Linked DNA regions of Homo sapiens: region 2 is linked to region 1. The links are contacts of gene promoters, found by promoter capture Hi-C in human tissues and cell types (Jung and others, 2019). All regions are on one chromosome and are shown on one strand. Each heading gives the region's core, a stretch centred on a gene start or on the middle of the fragment in contact. The rest is flanking DNA. Distances are from core to core; before and after follow the strand shown. Region 1 holds the start of RNF103 (ring finger protein 103). Region 2 overlaps LOC105374846 (a long non-coding RNA gene).

Region 1 (4,491 bases), core at 1,487-3,986:
AGCAAAACCATTCACAATAAACACTTAAATTTTAAACTGCTATACCATGACTTTTCTGCCATAAAACGTGTGATTTGAGTCATACTGGGCTGTGCGTCTTAAAGTTAAATGTGGACTTCTAGTACATTCAATGTGCCAAGTATTTTTAGGCCCAAAAGAAGGCAATAATAAATAACAGTCAAAAGAAAAAAAAATGTGTGACCAAATTATTTTCCATAAAAAAATGATGGCTTTGGCAGTTGAGACACTTCTCATCTCTAAACCAAGAGAGTTTATTTATTAGAGATCTTTTACCCTAGTTACTCCACTTCTTCCCCCTATGGTAGAAATAAGAATCGCCATAAACCAGTCAGCAAACAAGGGGCAAGAATAATATACGATTTTATATTTTCTCTAAAGAAACATTTATCACTTCTGCAGAGTGTGTTCCTCTCCTCTACCCTAATAGTGAGATATGAGTTTTATAACCCGCAACCTACAAATATCCAAGTGTTAAACTGCTAGCGAGCTCATACTCTTGTCTATCACGCTACATGTCTATAAGGTACTAAAGAAGGAAAAGATTTGTCTTGTAAAAGATACAGCTGACAAAAATACTTGAAACAACAAAAAAGATAACCATCAGTTTCAGCTGCTTCCCACAGCAACGCAGAAAGCCTTTCTCAAATTACATTCCACTTTCAGGAAGTATATCCAAAGATATACTTTGTGCAGCAGTGAAAAAAATTAACCATATTTCTCACCCAATCCTACCAAAACCAACAATTACTAAAAACACATTCTTTAAGACATTGAATATTCTCTCAGCACTATTTCACGTATATTTCTCAACCCATTAAACAATGCAAGGGTACCTGTGACACAGAAGACAAAAAAAATTTTTCTTTTACACATCCAAGATGCAAATTTTTAAAAATCCTAACAGAAATATAATATAAACTCGAACATGGCAGGCATTTATACAAAATGCTCGCCTTATTTTCACCAAACTTAAAGTCTGAAAAGCTAATACTGTACGGTGTATACTGTCTATATTCAAACTCATGATTTAACATTTAAATCCTAGGCCCAAGTGCCTCTGATAGTAAGTATTCCAAAGATGTGTCCCCACTCTGGGTATCTTATTATTACTATCGTGACAAATATTGCTATTGACAGACAACGTTTTGGAGTTTTTCTTACGTTTTTATGAACTTCAACTGACAAATAATGCTTTCCAGTTTGTAACTAGTTGATATTCCAGAATTTTGAGAAAATCACTCAACTTAGTAAACAACGCTAAGAAGCCACACTTTAAACTGTCATTTTACGATAACCTTAAAAGGATACACCAACACTCCTCCAAATAATTTCAGACTCCTCCTCAAAGCTGGGATCCGCATACTTGATTGTAGGAAGCTTGGACGAAGAAACCTGGGCAGCTTTAACGCTTCCAGGAAAGGCCTCACTCTGGGGGAACAGCCAGGTACCAGGAGGTACAGGTCGTCCCCTCTCCCAGGTGGAGGGGACCCTAGGGGAAGCCCGATACTCGCCTGACTTTTCCACCAGCTCCCGGACATCCTTCTTCTCGGGCAACCCTGAGTAGCCCAACCCCCGGCACTCCAAAATGGTCTTCAGCTTCTTGAAGCTCAGCGCCACCGGATCCACCAGCTGGGTGGCAAAGATGCCAGTTTCATACCACACAATGGCCTCAAAAAACCTGGCCAGGACGAACAGGACCAGGAAATAGAGGAGCAAGAAAAAAAGCTTCAGCCACATCTTCCCTGGAGTTTCCTCTCTTTCCAGAGAGCTCGGAATACGGGAGAGAGAAGGGTCGAGGGCGGGGGCCGCGGCTCGGTGGCAGCTTGGGCGAGGGCCCCGTGTCCACGCGCGGGCCACCCGGCGCCGTCACTGGCCGGCCATCCCCGGCGGGGAAGCAGGTGACGGGATCCGCGCGGGCGCGAGGCGGCGACGAGGGACGCAGAGACGCAGAGCCTCGCGCCGGGCCTCCCAGTCAAGAGCCGACAAAAATAAAGGGGAAAAACTCAAAACCCCCATCCATTAAGCACAGAAAGGAGAGGGGCGCGGGGAGAGCTCGCGGGGAAGAACAAAACGAGGGACGCTTCCCCCGGGGCGGGCACTGACCCAGGTGGCGGGGTCGGCCCTCCGGTGCCGCGATCTCAAGGGGGAGGGGGAGACCAAAAAATAACTCAGATCCGCCCAGGAGGCGGGGATCCGGGCGGCAGGCCGGGGCCCGAGGGGCCGTGGGGGCCGGACTCCCGCGGCCGCGGGTCAGGAGGGCGCGGCGCTCGGCCGGGCCAGGCCCGGGGCCCAGCGTGTTCTGCGCGGGGAGGAGCGGCCGCCGCAACGCCGCGCCCGAAGCCCAGGCCCCAGGCCCCGCCGACCGCCCAGGCTCCGCGAGAAGAGCGGCGGGCACGGCGGCGGCTCCAGGTTCGCTCGGGCCGGCTGGCGGGCGGCGCCTCTCAGGCGGGCGGGCACTGCGGCCCGGCCCAGGATGGGGCGTCGCGGTCTCTGCAGATGGAATCGGTCTCGGAGGGAAAAAACCAATAATAGGCCCCGAGACTGCTCCTCCAGGCGGCTACCCGGCTGCCTCCCGGCCACTCAGCGCCCGTCCCGCTCGGATGGGCAGTGCCGGTCGCAGCACCCGTCCCCAACACCCCCGCCACCTCCGGAGACCGCGGCCGTACCCTCCACAACCGTGTATCAGCGGCGGCCGCGGCCGGAGCCGAGACATAACAACTGACGTCGCGATGAGGCGGGGCCGGGGCGGGGCCTGCAGGGTGCGCCCGCAGGGGCCGAGGGCGGGGAATTCGGGGAGCCGCGGGGCTACCGGACTACCGAACGAGGGGCGGGAGGAGAGGCGGAGCCGCAGCGTGGTCGGGGCCTTCCCGCGGTGCCGAAAGTTGCCTCTCCGTGCTTTTGCGGCGTGGTCTCCCCTTTTGCCCCTCCAATGTTTAGCAATTGATTTTGTCTGAGGATTAGTCTTTAGATTGTATCACTTTGTGTATTTTTTGTAAAAATAGAGCAGTTAATTATTCTCTTAAAATCGGTGAAAATAGAAATGTACGTTTTTTGATGAATCCTGGTGAACAGGGAAATTTTTGGCACAGTTGGTTTGAGATGGTAGAAGGTTAAACCCAGAAAGCAAATGTTTTGCCCCCTCTTCATGAGAATGTGGCTTTGCACATGTGTGTTGGAGGAGGTTTGGCCAAAACTGGAGTTCGCGTTATACTAGGCCCAGTTGTCGCTGCCAGTTACAGCCTTTTCCCTCCTTCAGTCTCAAGGGTGTTAAAAGCCTGGTGTGGACTCCCTGAGTTCCTAGGACAAAGATTGTCGAGTGTAGATAAGTCCAGGTGCAAAGTTCCGGGTGCTTTATTTTGTACATGGGCCTGGCACAGTGGCTCACGCCTGTAATCCCAGCACTTTGGGAGGCCGAGGCGGGCAGATCACGAGGTCAGGAGTTCGAGACCATCCTGGTTAACACGGTGAAACCCTGCCTCTATTAAAAATACAAAAAATTAGGCCGGCGTGGTGGTGGGCCCCTGTAGTCCCAGCTACTCGGGAGGCTAAGGCAGGAGAATGGCGTGAACCCGGGAGGCGGAGCTTGTAGGGAGCTGAGATCGCGCCACTGCACTCCATCCAGCCTGGGTGACATAGCAAGACTCCGTCTCAAAAAAAAAAAAAAAAAAAAAAAAAAAAAAAGAAAGAAAGAAAAGAAAAAAAAGAGTCACATGGACAAGCATGCGATACCTGGTTCTGTGCTTATAAATTTAACCGGGCCGAGCGTACTCTTTACGTCAATCTCTGTGTCAGTCTTGAGGGAGGAAGGAGTTGGGTTCATAAACTGAACAAGGTTGGCTTTGACCAGCCCCTTTTGATAAGGAAGGAAAAAAAAAACAGTAATTACGGGGAAATGTTACTATTTGTGCAAAACTGTCAACTATCTGAAACTAGGGGTGAAAGTTTTAGGAAGAAAGGGATCATGATCCCAGGTCATGGAGCAAGGGAGGAACGGGAAGCAAAGAATGGACTGTGAGAATGTAGCCTCCGAATGGTGCCCATTTAAAATAAAGTGAACAAGGGCATTTCAGTGCCGGGCTAGTGGGGGAGGAGTTGGAAGGGGATGGGCCCAGGGAGCATTGAGAATCAGAGGAGGAGGTGTAGGAATGTCCAGCCAGCAACTGGACACTGCCCCTGTGTCTTTAGCTTCCATGTGGCTTTGTTCTCGTGGCTGGCAGATCAGTGTGGGAGACTGTGTTAAACAACTGATTCTAACAAGCCTGGTTCTGAAATTTCAGAATTCTTGGGCATGTCTTGGTGACCCTTTGATGATATTGTCCAAACCTTGACACTGAAGGTGATGTCCCTCACCTCAAAGGAATGTATGTACTCGCTAGTGAGGAGAGACTGACCCAATCTCAAAAATACAGAATAGGCATGGGCAGGGAAAGTTGGTGTGTGAGCTGAGGGTGGAACCAGTCAGGCCAGAGT
Region 2 (4,491 bases), core at 625-3,124, 180 kb after region 1:
CTCCCTCCCTCCCTGCCTCCCTCCCTTCCTTCCTTCCTTCCCTCCTTCCCGCTCTCTTTCTCTCTCTCTTTTTCCCTTTCTCCCTTTCTCTCTCTCTCTCTCTTTCTCCCTTGGAGAAAGGGTCTTGCACTTTCGCCCAGGCTGGAGTGCAGTGGAGTCACTGCAGCCTCAACCTCCTGGGCTCAAACAGTCCTCCCACCTCAGCCTCCCAAGTAGCTGGGACTATGGGTGCACACCATCATACCTGGCTAAATTTTTGTAGAGATGGGGGTTCACCATGTTGCCCAGGCTGGTCTTGAACTCCTGGACTCAAGGAATCCATCCATCCACCTTGGCCTCCAAAATGCTGGGATTACAGACGTGAGCCACTGCACCTGGTTCATGCTTTTGTCTTTTTGAAAAAAAAAGGAAAAAGTTAAAAGATTTAGTGATTCTGCTGTAACAAAGCCAACTATTTATTTATGGAGACAAAATTTCTCAGTACTTACATTGTATGACAAACAAAAGCAAAACAAAATTAATACTGAACTCTGTCTCATTCTAGCAATCAATAAATAAAATAAATCCTGTTATTTTATGGGTTCATTAATTAATTGGACCACAAAATTCATTTGTGGGGGGTCCATTTCATTAAGAGCTGAATTTTCCCCCAAAATTATGTTTTAAAAAGCTTTTTTTGAGATAATTGTAGATTGACATGCACATACAAGAAAGGGTACAGAGAATTCCATACCCTTCACCCAGTTTCCCCTAACAAAGGTTACTTTTATATTTATTTATTTATTTTTAGAGACAGAGCATTCTTCTGTTGCCCAGGCTGGAGTGCAGTGGTGTGATCTGGGCCCACTGCAACCTCCGCCTCCTGGATTCAAGTGAGTCTCTTGCTTCAGCCTCCCTAGTAGCTGGGATTACAGGCACCCGCCATCATGTCTGGCTAATTTTTGTATTTTTAGTAGAGACAGGATTTCACCATGTTAGCCAGGCTGGTCTCAAACTCCTGAACTCTAGTAATCTGCCTGCCTCGGCCTCCCAAAGTGCTGGGATTACAGGTGTGAGCCACCATGCCTGGCCAAAGGTTACTTTTAATGTTCATTAATTTTGAAGACTTGCAGTTTATTTATGCTATAAAGGACAATTGTGCACTATTAATAGTCGCAATGATGACATAATCTAAGACTTTTAATATTTAGAAACTTATGGTTGCAGGAAATTAAAAATTCATCTCATGTGCTTTTTTGGCAGAGAAGTATGAAATATTGATCAATATAAGGTCCTTAAGCATATGCACCTATTAAACTTTTATGGAGGAAGTAGAATAGAATTCATAAGTCCATTTGTTTTTACTCTTTATTTTTTTGAGACAGAGTCTCACTCTGCCGCCCAGGCTGGACCGCAGTGGCACAATCTCCACTCACTGCAACCTCTGCCTCCTTGGTTCAAGTGATTCTCGTGTCTCAGCCACCTGAGTAGCTGGGATTGCTACTCAGGTGTGCACCACCACACCCGACTAATTTTTGTATTTTTAGTAGAGATGGGATTTCACCCCTTTGGCCAGGTTGGTCTTGAACTCTTGGCCTCAAGTGATCTGCCTGCCTTGGCTTCCCAAAATGCTGGGATTACAGGTGTGAACCATCGCGCCTGGCCTAGAATTCATAAGTTTAAGGAGAAAAAGGAGTGATGAAAAATTTCCAAAAGTTAAGAACTTTTTCTTGTATTTTAAAAATGAGTGACGGTTGAAACAAAATTGATATATTATTTATGTGCTATTAGAAATAATTAAAAAGAATAAGGTTTTCTTTTTTAAAAATCAACATTTACTTTGGAAATTATGTCCTTTATAGTGATGAAAAATGTTTGATGTCAAGTTAAAAGTGAGTAAAGAAGTACATTCATTTTATAACAGCATTTTTCACAGTAGCTAAAATGTGGTAGCAACCCAAGTGTTTATTACTGGATGAATAGATAAACAAAATGTGGACTCAGGCATCTCTCTTCTGGGCTCATACCCAAAGGAAATGAAATCACCACCTCACCAAGGTATCTGTACTCCTGTGTTTATTGTAGCATTATTCATAATAACCAAGATATGGAGACAACCTAGACAACCATCAATGGACGAATGGTTTAAGAAATTGTGGTACGGATATATACAAGGGAATTCAGCCTTAAAAAAGGAGGAGATAGCATTTGCCATAACCTAGACGGGCCTGGAGGACATTATGCTAAATGAAAGAAGCCAGACACAGAAAAAAAATATTGCACGATCTTACCTGTATGTGGAATCTTTTATTTATTTATTTTCTTAGACGGAGTCTCACTCTGTTGCCCACGCTGGAGTGCAGTGGCGCAATTTTGGCTCACCGCAACCTCTGCCTCCTGGGTTCAAGTAATTCTCCTGCCTCAGCCTCCTGAGTAGCTGGGACTACAGGCACCTGCCACCACACCTGGCTAATTGTATTTTTAGTAGATATGGGGTTTTGCCATGTTGGCCAGGCTGGTCTCAAACTCCTGACCTCAGATGATCCACCTGCCTTGGCCTCCCAAAGTGCTGGGATTACAGGTGTGAGCTACCATGCCTGGCCTGTGGAATCTTTTAAAAAGGTCAAATATATAGAGAATAAAACAGTGGTTATCAAGATTGGAGTAGGAGAGAGGAAATGGGCAGATGTAGGCCTAAGGATACGAAGTAGCAAACATATAGGATGAACAAGTCAAATAAAGTACAATATGAAGACTACAATTAATAATAGCATATTATTCCAGGATTTTTGCTAGATGAGCATAGTTGCTTTTGCTACAGGAGGAAATAAATGGGTAACTAAGTGAGATGATGCATAAGTCAATTTGTTTCACTATAGTATCCATTCTACTAAATATGTGTGTCTTATACCATGATGTTGTATATACCTTATATATACACAATAAAATTTATTTAAACAAACAAAATGTGGTATATACATAGAGTGGAATATTATTCAGCCTTAAAAAGGAAGTTCTGACACATGCCACAATATGGATGAATCTTGAGGATATTATGCTAAGTGAATTAAGCCAGTCACAAAAAACCAAATACTGTATGATTCTATGTATTTGAGGTATTTAAAGTAGTCAAAATAATAGAGACAGAAAGTAGAATGGTGGTTGGGACAGGCTGGGGAGAGGGAGGAGTGGGAGTTATGTTTAACGGTTATAGAGTTTTAGTTTTTCTAGATGAAAAGAGTTAGAGAGAAGGATGGTGGTGAAGGTTGCACAACAATGTGCATGAACTTAATACCACTGAACTGTACACTTAAATGTTAAAATGGTAAGATTGTTATGTGTATTTTGCCACAATAAATTAGTATTATTATTTTTTTTAGAGACAGAGTCTAGCTCTGTCAACCAGGTTGAGTGCATTGGTGTGATAACAGCTCACTGCAGCCTCCAACTCTTGAGCCCCCAACTCCTGGCCTCAAGCAGTCCTCCTGCCTCAGCCTCCCAAAGTGCTGAGATTACAGGGGTGAGCCATTCACTGTTCCTTGCTAAATCTTTTTTTTTTTTTTTTTTTTTTTTTTGAGACAGAGTCTCGCTCTGTCACCCAGGCTGGAGTGCAGTGGTGCGATCTCAGCTCGCTGCAAGCTCCACCTCCTGGGCTTAAATGATTTTCCTACTTCAGCTTCCTGAGTAGCTGGGATTACAGGCACACGCCACCATGCCTGGCTAATTTTTGTATTTGTAGTAGAGACAGAGTTTTGCCATGTTGGCCAGACTGGTCTCGAACTCCTGACCTCAAGTGATCCACCTGCCTAAGCCTTCCTAAGTGTTGGGATTACAGGCATGAGCCACCACACCTGGCCTAAATTTTTTTTTTTAATGAGTGAAGGAGTCCATAGTCTTTCATACTTTGGGGTGATACAAGAAAAGGAAAAAGGTTTAATGACAACTGCCACTTTCATTTATTCATTCCTTTGTTGATGTACTTTTGGGCTGGGTTTTGCTGTTATAAGCTAAACTACAATGGACATCCTTGTACACATTCCCTAGAGTCCAAGTACAAGATTTTCTCTAGGGTGTTTTCCTGGAAAAGGAATGACTTGAGGAGTATGGCAACCTTGTGAGAAATGACTGATTCGAAAGATGTGTCCCATAGCTTTTGATACATTTTTCTCCGAAGTCATGGTTCCAGTCCACACTCACACCAGCTGTGGAGGAGTTTTCATTTACCCACGAGCTTTGTTATTTCTGGTTTTGTCAGTCTTTTCAATTCTGCCAATCTCATAGGGTGTGATGGTATCTCGTTGTTTAAACCTGACTTCTCTTGTTAAGGTTGAGACCGAGCATCTGGCCCCATGTTTGCTGGCTATTCAGCTTTCCTCTTCTGCAGACTGCCCGTTTGTCCACTGCTCTGTTTCAGTAACTTCCATATACCAAGAACTCTCTGCCTTCCATAACTCACATCACTTAAAATACGAATTTTTTTGATGCTTAGAGAACCTGATTTCCTTCCAACCA

Evidence for each region. Contacts are between HindIII fragments. The study calls those that stand out against the background at their distance.
Region 2: a contact is called between a fragment that was not itself captured here and the fragment with the promoter of RNF103 in region 1, in 2 of the 25 tissues and cell types used here (dorsolateral prefrontal cortex and mesendoderm cells).

Annotation. Positions count from the first base shown.
Region 1 is chr2:86,621,129-86,625,619 of GRCh38, forward strand. RNF103 (ring finger protein 103) reads right to left here and starts at 2,737. Exons shown (of 4, transcript NM_005667.4): 1 at 1,533-2,737. The coding sequence starts at 1,758. The region is part of intron 2 of RNF103-CHMP3 (RNF103-CHMP3 readthrough); the gene reads right to left. RefSeq lists silencers at 1,558-1,607, 1,788-1,867, 2,138-2,677, 2,758-2,927 and an enhancer at 2,638-2,932. The HindIII fragment of the contact is 9,717 bases long and covers 1,573-4,491 here.
Region 2 is chr2:86,801,267-86,805,757 of GRCh38, forward strand. The region is part of intron 1 of LOC105374846 (a long non-coding RNA gene); the gene reads left to right. It also overlaps a transcript of CD8A not described here. Among named protein-coding and RNA genes, the nearest start is that of CD8A, 13 kb to the left of the region's middle. The HindIII fragment of the contact is 6,316 bases long and covers 1-4,491 here.